3 separate regions of the Homo sapiens genome follow, and regions 1 and 2 are each linked to region 3. The links are contacts of gene promoters, found by promoter capture Hi-C in blood cells and fetal thymus (Javierre and others, 2016). All regions are on one chromosome and are shown on one strand. Each heading gives the region's core, a stretch centred on a gene start or on the middle of the fragment in contact. The rest is flanking DNA. Distances are from core to core; before and after follow the strand shown. Region 1 overlaps DNM3 (dynamin 3). Region 2 overlaps DNM3 (dynamin 3). Region 3 holds the start of DNM3OS (DNM3 opposite strand/antisense RNA).

Evidence for each region. Contacts are between HindIII fragments. The CHiCAGO score rates a contact against its expected background, and 5 or more counts as called.
Region 1: a fragment that was not itself captured here is called in contact with the fragment with the promoter of DNM3OS in region 3 in 11 of 17 cell types (naive B cells, total B cells, endothelial precursors and 8 more); the score reaches 16.2 in naive B cells.
Region 2: a contact is called between a fragment that was not itself captured here and the fragment with the promoter of DNM3OS in region 3, in 1 of 17 cell types (naive B cells). The highest score is 5.5, in naive B cells.

Annotation. Positions count from the first base shown.
Region 1 is chr1:172,372,675-172,376,652 of GRCh38, reverse strand. The region is part of intron 17 of DNM3 (dynamin 3); the gene reads right to left. Among named protein-coding and RNA genes, the nearest start is that of C1orf105, 46 kb to the left of the region's middle. The HindIII fragment of the contact is 1,328 bases long and covers 916-2,243 here.
Region 2 is chr1:172,294,202-172,298,446 of GRCh38, reverse strand. All of the region lies in intron 15 of DNM3 (dynamin 3), which reads right to left. Among named protein-coding and RNA genes, the nearest start is that of C1orf105, 120 kb to the left of the region's middle. The HindIII fragment of the contact is 951 bases long and covers 2,014-2,964 here.
Region 3 is chr1:172,142,529-172,146,656 of GRCh38, reverse strand. DNM3OS (DNM3 opposite strand/antisense RNA) reads left to right here and starts at 1,822. Exons shown (of 4, transcript NR_103486.1): 1 at 1,822-2,003; 2 at 2,220-2,292. All of the region lies in intron 14 of DNM3 (dynamin 3), which reads right to left. It overlaps MIR199A2 (microRNA 199a-2), which reads left to right and starts at 2,013; the gene lies at 2,013-2,122. The HindIII fragment of the contact is 1,597 bases long and covers 424-2,020 here.

The sequences.
Region 1 (3,978 bases), core at 330-2,829, 230 kb before region 3:
TATTTCCTCATTTTAGAAAAAAAGAAGCAGTAAACTGCCCCTTCTACCAATGTCTAAGATGAACGGGAAAAATGCATATAAATGGAATTTTTCTTTTACGTGAGTAATTGCAGAGAGCAACACTTCCTTTTCTCTAACCCCAGTTCTAACCAAATTCTCCATTGTGCTCTTTTCTGTATGTATATTGTGTATGACTATATTTTTTCTTTGTTTAAATTATAGGATTGCAATAAGGTTCTTTGCAGTTGAAGCACTGAAATGACAGCTGTTTATCATTATCCTCATCAAGGAAATGTAAAATAAAAATAGTAATTTGTCTCTGATCTTTGAGGCAAAAAAGAATGGTCTGCAAACATTTAACCTTTTATGTGCAGGTTCAATGATGCTGTTTAAAAAACGTGAATAATATTGTAGAAACCAGCTTGTTTCTAAAAAATACAATAGACAGTCCTTCCTATTGCAGTTTTTAAAAATAGCTATTGAGAAATCTAATTTAACCAATAAAAACACCAGCATTGTAAATGTGAAGTCATTTATAAAAATTACCATAACTTACTTTCTCCGAAATTATTTGCATGGTATTTAAGAAACAGGCTGTTATATAAAGTTTTAAGTTATTTAAAACATATTTTTATAACTACTATTATTATTTTTGTTTTTAGAGACAGAGTCTTGCCCTGTCATCCAGGCTGAAGTGCAGTGGCGTGATCATAGCTCACTGCAGTCTCGAACCCCTGAACTCAAGGGATCCTCCCATATAGCTGTAACTACATGCCACGCCCAGCTAATTTTGCCTTTTTTTTTTTTTTAGAGATGGGGTTTTGTTATGTTTCCCAGGCTTATCTCAAATTCCTGGCTTTAAGCGATGGTCCCGCCTCAGCCTCCCAAGTAGCTGAAAATTTTAATTTAAAAGCTTTCTTTTAAAGGTTTACTACTTTAACAGGTGAGGGAATGAAAGTGTTGAATCAGAAATAATTCTCACCATACCTTGGGGCGTCTATTATAGAAGCACTGGGCTTGACTGGAATGTCTTTCAGGTGTTTTGTTTTTGTCTTTTCCCTTTCCTTAAATCTCTTATTTAATCATGTCATAGACTTATTTGAAGACTTTTTCTTAGTAAATCAGGTCATCACGATGAAAACACTGTTACCATGGTAACGTACCTGTGAATTTTTCCAGCCCTACATTATCAAGAATGGTTTCACTGAAAACCTCTCTCCACTGCCAATCATTCACTTCTAATTTGATGAGGCTGGAAGGGTATGGGTTAAGATAGTGTTGATGATGCTCACCCCACCACCAACAGTGGTCTACAAATACTGTGAGACAAAACATGTGTTTCCAAAAGCTACCAGGATGACCAAATATAGTCCTATGAGAAATGCCTTACAGACATAAAACAATTGTGCTATTGATCATGATGAAGGCTGTTTTTGACTCAGAGCGATTCCTCTGCTACTGTTAATTCTGTAACACCATCATCATCATGTTTACATACTCAAATAATGAAATACTATAATCACAAGAAAAACCCCCGTGGTTTCATTTATAAGAAGATAACACTTAAAGATTAGGGGGAAAATGACACAAGAGTAATCTATATTTTAGGAATTCTACTTCCATCACCTAAAAACTTGTAACTGTAAAGAAATTTTAAATTATTGTATCCTTTATACTATTTGTTTAACAGGCACTTTTAAAGCTCATTCAGTTTAGAATCAGGGTATTAAGGGATTATAAGGTCTACGCAATAAAGAACTAGGTCTGTTTACAAAGATTGAAAGATGGACAAAGGTATGAAACAAAAATCACAGATATTGTAAAGCAAAATCTGTCAATTGTTTTGTTCTTCAAAATCATTTACATGGATGAGTATAGATGCACTATATCAAAGTTAATAAAGTCCTAGAGAAAGCAGGGGCAATAAAATTCAAATAATATGAAAGCAGCATGGGCCGTCATAATAAACTACATAGCAAAATAATAGCATAGGTATGCAGTTGATCTTATTTACCTTTTCTTTACATTATGAGGAAGAAAATCTTTCAAAGTTCAATGTAAATACAATTACACTTGCTTTACATGTAAAAACTTCTTAGTAAAAACAAAATAATACAAAGCATTAAAGCAACCAAAAAAACCACACACAACTGTAAAATTCTGTGAGTAGAATCATTTCTTTCTGGAGTACAGAAGAAAAACGAAGCCGTTAAAAAAGCAGCTATAATCAGGGGTTTTAAGCTTCCCTGATGTTCACTGAATACTGTAGTTGATAAAGCTGTCACCTACATCCAACTACAGAACTCCCGAAAGGCCTGAAGATAACTTTTTCAACTATTCCTACACATGAATTACTGAGTGCACCTTCTCAGACATTCCCAGGGCCCAAGAGCCTTAGTAGATGATCAAGATTAAAAAAAGACCTGAAGGCTGTTTTAGGAAATTTAAGTTAATTTTTGTTGAAAGGAAAGATGAAAACAAAATCAGAAGAAATTTGCTAGGTTGAGCTGTTGCAAATTTCTTGTTTCCAATATTCAAAGATAGAACATTATGTGATAATAGCACCAGACCACAGCTGAGTCATCATACAGACAACACGTACATGTCCCAAAGTTGGGGAGCTACTTCCAAAGTTGCCAAAACCAGAACTTCTTCTGTCACTGTAAATGCTCATACCCAACTAAAAAATAAATTAAAATTTAAAGGAGCTTATCTCAATTTAGGCAAACCTTTAGTTTACAGAAAAATAACTTTGTGAAGATGATAAAAATATACTGAGAGTTCTATAACTACTAATATTCTGAAGAAGATTGCTTAGACAAAGATCTATATTCTTGGAGTAATAATCATTGGGTCTGGAGTTTTTTTTCTTTTGTTACTTCTCTCTCTCATTCTTCTGAAATTGAATGTGTGTATGTTGCCTGTTTGACAATCTGGAGGATGTAAAGTACAAAAAAACAAAACTATCTTTGCTTTACCCTAATTCTGGTATTTACCTTGGCTATCAGATTTGTCTACATTTTATAAAGTGGCAAAAACAAAGAGAGTCAAGATTGCTTAAAGATCAACAACTATGGCTGCATTTATAATAAAAATTAAAACTATTCTAAGGCAAATTTTATAGAAGGATGCAATTATTATTTGAAACAATTCTGTATTATTTTAAATTTTGTAGTGTATCAGATTGTCCTGAGTGCTTTATTAATAAGATTTGTAAGTATTACGTGAGGTGTAAGAGATAAAGCTGATGTTGGTTTTTAAAAGCTTTTTTCCTTAGACTATTTTTAAAGTAGTTTAGGAGAAGAAATCAGATTGCAACTGCTAGTAAACATTAATGAGTTTATAAGTCTAAATGACTTTTATGACTGGGATCAAGATGTTTCTTTACAAAGCAATAAGGTGACAGGAGACTAAAGATGCGAATTTTGCTAAGAAAGCATTATTACTGCATGTATTTACATTGTCCCTCAAATTTCTCTTTTTTTAACCATGGCTTCAAAATTTCTACAAATACTATTGTTAGTGAGTACTATGTTTTTTCCTCTGCCAATTGTTTATGTCTATTTAATCCATATAAACACTTTTAGAATAGACATAATGCTTTCTGAATTAAAGGTGTTTTAGTTAAATGAAATATTTGATAAAATGGCTTTTCTTAAAAATTCTCATCACAGGCCATGGTGGCTTGTGCCTGTAATCCTAACACTTTGGGAAGCCAAGGTGGGTAGATCACTTGAGCTCATGAATTTGAGACCAGCCTGGGCAACATGATGAAACCTGGTCTCTACAAAAAATTTAAAAATTAGCCAGGCATACTGGTGCATGCCCGTAGTTCCAGATACTCAGGAGGCAGAGGTAGGAGGATCACTTGAGCCTGGGAGGCAGAAGTGGGAGTGAGCCGAGATCACACCACTGCACTTCAGCCTGGGTGACAAAGCAAGACTCTCTTTCCAAAAAAAAAAAAAAAAAAAAAAAAAA
Region 2 (4,245 bases), core at 1,240-3,739, 150 kb before region 3:
AGGGGCTAAGTTTTTCTACTCTAATGCAGAAGGCTCCCCTGAGTCTCCCATAGCAGTGCCTATTACTGGCCCATGACAACTGAGACATCTGTGCCTTCCCACACTTGTGGGACCAGCCCACTTAAAGCGTCCAGCAGTTGGACTTGTGCCATGAAGAACAAATGAAAATGAAAGGATACCTAAAGAAGCTAACAGTCAGAGAGGGAAAGAATGAGGAAAGCAATCACAGCAGTCCATCAATGAAGGAGAACCTTTGGGGAAAGCAGAAGACAGAAGAAAATAAGGACTTGAAGAGGCACACGAACAGCATTAAAAAAGACTTCCTAGAACTAAAAAGTCAGATTTTTAAATTAAAAAAATTAAGTAGATAAATAGCAAGAAAGGCTGATCATTGTTGAGACTAGAATTAGCAGCTTTGAAGATCTAATAGAAGTGGAAAAATATAAAAGGACAGAAATGATGAGGGTGTGGAGGAAAGACCCAGAATGTCTAACTTGTGAACAAGAGGAGTTCCAGAAAAAAAGAAAAGGAAGATAGAAGGAGAAAAACAATTATAAAAGACATATTTTTTTAAAAAGAAGCTTTCCCTGAGATTTAGAAAGACACAAATATGTACATCAAAAGTACAATCAGGTGGAATTAATGAGAAAAGATACAACTGAGGCATATGAAGTTCTAATAAAAAAGTATAAAAGAAAAATGTGAGAAACATACTCCCAGATAAACCTTGTATGACAGAAGAAACCAAAAGTAAAAATTATTTAGAAAGCAATAAAGATATAAACGCTTCATATCCAAAGGAGCAAAGGCTGTAGGAAAATGTATAACCTTAAATATGCTCATCATTTAGAAAAGAAGGTTGGTATTCATCTAGATAAATTATAAAATGATTTTTAAAAAATAAAATAAACCAACAAAGAGAATTAACACAGATTAAGGCCAAAATTAAGGAAATAGGAAATATAAAAATAACAGAGGTTAAGGACATCCACAAGTATTTTCCCTTTACCAGTAGATAATACACTTACAATCCTAATTAAGGGGGGAAATGGGAGAAAACAAAAGTATACAAGATTGCAAATGAGAAACAATAGGATAATGACCACAAATATAGAAGAGGTTGAAAAAATTAAAATATTATATGCAACCCTATGGCAAAAAATTAAGAATCTAGAATAAATTAACAATACCTTTAAAAATACAAATTACCAAAATTAACTCAAGAAGAATTGAAAAATCCAAGTGTTAGTATTTAACAAAACACTACCAAAATTAATAAGATGCTATTTTTTTTTTTTTTTTTTGAGATGGAGTTTTGCTCTGTTGCCCCGGCTGGAGTGCAGTGGCATGATCTTGGCTCACTGGAGCCTCCGCCTCCCAGGTTCAAGCGATTCTCCTGCCTCAGCCTCCCAAGTAGCTGTGATTACAGGAACATGCCACAAGGCCCAGCTGAGTTTTGCATCTTTAGTCTAGATGGGATTTCACATTGTTGGCCAGGCTAGTCTCGAACTCCTGACCTCAGGTGATCAGTCCGCCTTGGCCTCCCAAAGTGCTAGGATTACAGGCGTGAGCCACTGTGCCCGGCCAAGATGCTATGTTTAAAAGGCTAACATTAACTGCAAGATGAAAATATACAAATCAATTGCTTTTCTCAGTACTACAAATAACTTAGGAAATGGGAAAAGACTCCATTCACATTAGGAGCAGAGCCTTTAAAATACATAGAAATGAATTTTTTTAAATTAAGGAAATGATAATATCTTATTGAATAGCACGAAACAAACCCTTATAATTGGAAAGGGAGGTGTGACATCACCAGGATGGTGGAAAAGAAGGTCACCTGCTAATATTCCCCTACAGCAACAAGAATTCCACATCCCTGTATAGTCAGAAGTCTCTTTCTGGGAGCCTCAGGATTCAGGTAGGAGTTTGTGAAACACTGATGAAGCCCTAGACATAGGAGGGTTGTTTTGAGAGTATCGAATGACACTGAGGTGGCTGATCCACCAAGCTTGCTCCCAGGTTCAAACCTGGAAATGACCCAGTCCCCCAAGGGCCTTGGCTACAGACCATTTGGCCTTTGAGCCTGCAATCAAAATCATCTGCCAAGGGGTCCAGAAGGAATCACACAACTAGTGCTTTGGTGGAGAGACTTGTCTGAATGCTGGCATCATCTTGGCAGTGAACTGAATGTTGCCCTGTGGCTCTGCTCCAACCCCTCTAATAAATTAAAAGGGATATTTGGATGACTTGATTTGATTACACTGTACCCCAAGGTCTCACAAAGTGACCAGCACTAGTAGGTATTCCATAGATATTTATTGAGTAATGAATCTCATACGCATAAATATTGACTGTCATCTTTAAAGTATGTTTGCTAATTTTATAACTTAAAAGTGATTCTCCATCAATGGTTGCTTGCTAAGGACTTTGAGTATTTTAGTATGTTTATAGAAATGAAGTTCTTTGTTCTGATTTCATTACAAAAATATAATACAATATTTTTGTATAGTATTTCAAAGTCTTTTCACTTATTCTTTGCATTTGCCTGACCTATCTTTGTTTCTTCTTTTATTTTTACATTTTTTTCCATTTGTTTTACTTTTTAAAAGTCCTATTATAAATGTCAACAGTATAATTGGGTTTTGGTTTTAATCTCAATCAGAAAATCATCATTTTTGATTAGGAAAGTTTCAATCATGTTTATATCTTGCCATGACTGTGTGCTTAGCCTTAGTTTTATCATTTTGAGATACAATTTGCTGTTTTTAAATGCTGACTGTTTCTTTTGTTTTGTTAACAAATAAGCTGGCTTTTTGGCTTCTATATTTTTCAGCAGTTATCTTTCAGTTTTTAAAATCATTCTTGAATTCACTTTTGTATATATATACGTATATTTTATATATACACATACAATTCAGGAATACAAAAATAATCTCTGACTTCTTGAAGAATTTAGAAGCTTTTACTTTCTGCTGCTTTCTTCATGACATTTGCTAATCTATCTAGAAATACTGACATATTATTTCTGAATTTTTTCACATCTTTTCCTTCTTTTAATTGTATTCAGTTTTGTTATATTTAAGCATTTATTAGATGGAACTCTACATGTTTATCTTGAATAAATATTTACCATCAGGCATCTTCTACCTGGACTTCCCCGTTGTAAATTCTTACTTGGATTCGTTTTTTGAGTTGGCCTTATAGTTCAAAGTTGCCTCTCTGGATTTCTGGTTGTCACAGTGCCCACGTTTCTCAAGTTGATGTAGTGAAGAAACATAGAGGCTTCTTTGGGTTGTCTTCTTGTTTGGCCTCATTTTTCTTAATCAGGGCAAAGCATTCACTGGTCACTGATAGATTTTCAATCCAGTTCAATCTATGAGTCTTGCAAACGTTGACTGACATCTCTACTTTTCTGTGTCTTTGAGGATTTCCATCTTTGTTGTGTATGACTTTTGGGGTATAGTAATAAATAATAAATAGAGAAGGGGGAAAGTGAAACTTATAACTTTTTACTTTTTTTTTTTTTTTTTTTGAGACAAAGTCTGGCTCTGTTGCCCAGGCTGTAGTGCAGTGGCGCGATCTTGGCTCACTGCCACCTCCACCTTTCAGGCTCAAACCATCCTTCCACCTCAGCTTCCCAAGTAGCCGGGACTACAGCCTTGCAGTCCCAGCCTGGCTAATTTTGGTATTTTTTGTAGAAATGGGGTTTCGCCAGATTGTCTAGGCTGGTCTCGAACTTGTGAGCTCAAACGATCCTCCTGTGTTGGCCTTCCAAAGTGCTGGGATTACAGGTTTGAGCCACTGCACCTGGCCTAACTTTTTACCATTTTAAAAGATAAATAATCTCATTTACTCTTTATAGCAATCCTGTAAAGTTGGTAGTAAAGCTGTTTCACAGATGAGGAAACTGAAATTCAGAGATATTAAAGGGTGTTCCCAAGATCACATAACTAATAAGTGGCATAATCTGGGTCTACCCCAATCCTTGGTTTATAGCCTCCATAAAACAAACACTTGTTGAATGAATAAGAAAATGGACAAATAAATGAATGAAAACACAATGGAATAAACTTGGACAGTGCTTATTTTTTAAACCACCTTTTTCATTTTTGACCAGATGCTAAACTTTTTATAGAAAACCTAAGATATTCAAGTTTAAAAGGATAAACCAAAACAAGCAGAATGAGTCATTTCAATTAAAAGAGGGACACATTTAAAAGAAATATATTCTCCAAGCATGAA
Region 3 (4,128 bases), core at 573-3,072:
AAAAGAATGGAGTTGGTATCCACATATAATACAAGTATTAGATTGTATTTAGTCACACTTAGATCATTTCCAGTAATATGCAAGCAGTGACAGGGAAAAAAGGGAGGTGAGTCTTATGGGCTTGTGCAAGCACTATTGAATAGGTCCTAAAGACACAAATATGGAAGCAAAAGTACAGAGATATAAAGTCATTCCTCTGACTCCTATTGATGATATAAATATTTCTATGAATGGTGTACCCAGTGCTAACCTCTGTTCCATCCTAAGATGCCAGATAATTCATGTTTATCTTATTTAATCTTCCTCACAAGATAACAAGGGCTTGTCATAACTTTTGAACTCTTCAGTAGTGTGCTATTTAATGATTCAAAAGAGGCCATTTTATGAAAAGCAAATGCTTTAGGACAGTACTCACTTGAAGCTTTTTGAAATATACAATGCAGCGTATAAAAAAGAGATATATTTTTCTACTTCTAAAAAGTATTTCAGAAGGCCAGTGGAAATGAATTGCTTTGGCTGTACTTTCTTTAAAGAAGGCTAAGTTTCTTAGTCTGGTTGGTCAAATTAAATTTGGAAGCTACCTAGAAATTTTCTCACATTTTGATCTTCAGAAGGGCAATTAATCAAGCTCTTGTTTGAGGCGACTCTAGCTTTGATCAGAATCCTATGGAGGGAAAGTGAGAGAACTACATATTCAGAATATTCAAGAGTATATATAATTGAAAACAGCCACAACAGGGAAAGAAAAGTAGATGCCAGTGGGCTGATATCTTATAACCTTTGGTCAAGCGGTACTTGGCAAATTTCAACAGATTTAGTTAACCAGAGATAAAACTAAGCCACAGAATACCATGAAAACAAAACAAAAGTATCAAAACAGAATCAGGAATTACAAGTGAAAAACAATGCTATACCTAACAGCATGGATCTACCAGAGGCGATTTGTTAGAAGACCTGAGTCGTTGTTTCGTAGTGGATGCTTCAAACAAAAACTGTAACGTTTCTTTAGGTCAAACTATAGCACAGCATTCAGAGACCCAGCCAAAATAGCTGAGGGAAACTAGGAAGGCCACATGTGGAACTAATTACTCATGTAGAGGCCATGACAAAGAACATTTCTCCAGACTTTTCATGGGGGCTTCACTTTCAGGAAGTTGCTATAATTACTGTTCAAGTCTAGAGCAGCCTGCAAGCTGCTGACAGATTCAACAGACAGGAGAAGGAGGGAGAGAGAGAAGGAGAGAAAGAGAGAGAGAGCGGGAGGGAAGGAGGGAGGGAGGGAGAGAGAGGGAGGGAGAGGGGAAGAGGGGGAGAGAGAGAGAGAGAGAGAGACAGACAGACAGACAGACAGACAGAAACTTATCTGCCCTTTTTGACGAGTGAAATACCAGAAAATAAAGTGCCACAGGAAAGCTCAAAAAGGTTTCCAAATGAGCTCTGCCTTCCAGTGTTCAACTTTCTGTTTACTATTTCATCTACCCTCTATCTTCAAATTACTTCTCTAGCCTGGGTCAGACAGTAAATTTGTACTTCTACACTAACTCACTTTCAGTTGGCCACAGCCGAACTGTACATCTTGACTCTTTTTTTTTTACAGCTTTTCCATACTGGGGCCCACTTCCTGCCCAGTTGAGGAAAAAAATCTGGCCTGAAGATGAAATGACTGCTTAACGTTACACTAAAACATCTGGTACCATTTTATGCACAGACCCATGTCTGAGAGCAGGCGATTCTAGCGGTCTCTCCAGCGGCACAGCGCATACCCAAACCTCCCCAGGGTGACATCATCCCATATATGGACTCTCCAGCCCAGCCCTCCCCCTTTTCCTGGTCCTAAATTCATTGCCAGTTCCCCAGTCTGCAGCAAATGTGCCACGTCAAGACTGGAAATCACAGCCCTTGAGTGTGTCTCAGTCAGCGCAGCAGAATTCAGGGGGGAAAGCTGAATGCAACCCCTGGTGCAGGAAGGGAGGCTTTTCCTGAGGACCGGGAGAGGATTTTAAGTACATAGAAGGAAGCTTCTGGAGATCCTGCTCCGTCGCCCCAGTGTTCAGACTACCTGTTCAGGACAATGCCGTTGTACAGTAGTCTGCACATTGGTTAGACTGGGCAAGGGAGAGCAACGCCATGGACCGCTGGGGACAAAATGGGCTGTTTCCAAGGAGAAGACATTTGTTTGCTCCTTTTTTGAATCTCATATCCAGTGTTTTTCTTCACAGGTTTTGCACACTAGGGACCAAGAAGCCCTCGGGGACACTGCTGAGAAAAGACTGCCGAAGGGAAGACCAGCGGGTAAGGCCTTCTTGACTGCTCACCTGGTCTGTGACCAAGGGAACCTAGGTGGGGAGCCCATGATTTGTGTTAACATGCAAGGGAAACAGAGGTACATGTGTGATGGGTAGAGATGTATTTAATTTTAAAAGAGCAAAAGTGTGTGGTATATAGCGATTTACTGTTTTTTTTTTTTTTATTTCTGAAGATTGATAATTCAAGTGTTTTCTTAAAGGTTTTCCCACTTCAAAATGAAATATGAAAAAACTCATTCCAGACACTTAAGAATAGTTTAATGAGGCTACTTTTGAATTGTTTAATAATAATTCAAAGATTTAAAAACTTATATGGATGAAGGCTGTATGTATAACTTTTAACATCCCAGGACTGAAGTCATTTTTCCCCAAAGTAAAGAATACTTGCTGGTTTTTAAATGCTATATGGATAGTGCTTTTCTGAAGATTTCCTTCTGTAATATAAACAACAGGAATAATAGTACCTAACAATAAAAGAAGAACCTGCCAAGTCTTGCCTACCAGACAATGCAGATGGGATTTGCCCAGAGAAGAGCACCGACCCACAACTTATTGAGTCAGCAACTGAGTAAATCAGGGAATAAAAACCTCTATCTTTAGATACCCCTGTAAATATCTGTTTTACATTTTTTTTAAATCAAAGAGTGGTTAATAATTGCTGCTCAGCTGAGCCCTCTTGCCTATAGCTTACAATGCTTCCACTTCTCTGAGCATTTAAAATAAGGCACTTTGTCTAGAAACCCACTGATAAAAAAGGAATTTGTAAACGAAGGCAGAAGTTTTCTTTGGTCAGTTTCCAGCTGTCCTGGAGGTGAAAGAGGGTGGGAGAGGGGGAGGAAGGTGGGAGGGAAGAAAACCCTCAAGCTGAATGAAATCCTAATAGAGAAAATAATAGAGCAAGTCTGGATTGCAATGTGATCTGTGCTGAACTTTAGAGGTCGGCCCCTTAAAGAAAGTTCTGGAAAAATGTTATTGCCTCATCCCTAATTTTCTTAACCCCCATTAATTTCTATTCCGAAACAATTCTATATAATGAAAACATCTCTTCTACAGGGTTTGTGAAAAATAAACATAATCTCTTTTGTCCTCCTTTAAAGTTACAGTGGTTCCTGAACAAATTCTTTTCTAAGTTATACATTTTGCAACAATTCAAAAATTGACTCAAGTTCTCTTTAGCAAAATATTTTATTATAAAAGATTCCCTAAGTTTTCTTTTGTCAAAACAACTTACTTTAAAAATTACCCTTCTGATCACCCCAAAATGTGTATAAAGAAAACATTAAGTATTCTCATATATTCATGATTATTAGTTAAAATATAAACAGCAAGGAGAAATTTAGCTACTTTCACTTAGATGATATAGTAAAGTTATCCTTTCATTTTCTATTGTGACTTGGAGAGTTCCATATTAATTATTTTTAGTAGAACAAATGAGATGTTAAAAATCTATATAGTTTCTTTTACATAAGAAAACTAAAAAAAGTAACTTAGAGGAGCTCATTTTTTCAAGAAATATATTTTTTCTAATTGATACAATTACTGAAGAGGAAAAATAGCTAACAAGGTACTTTGGTAATGTTTTTCTCAAATTTTCTGGGTTTTTTTTTTTTTTTTACTCTAGAAATGATTACATTTCAAAATTTGCTTTCATTTAATGTATATTTAATTTCAATTTCTTTCTTCATGTTAAACGGTCTTTTTGTTTCAAAGAAATGAATCCCTATGGGTCCCTCACCTATTTTCTCCCTCAGGATGACTTTTAGTCTGGAGATAGAAGGGACATAAGGGTGCCTCTGGCATAAGTACAGGAGTAGAAATATAA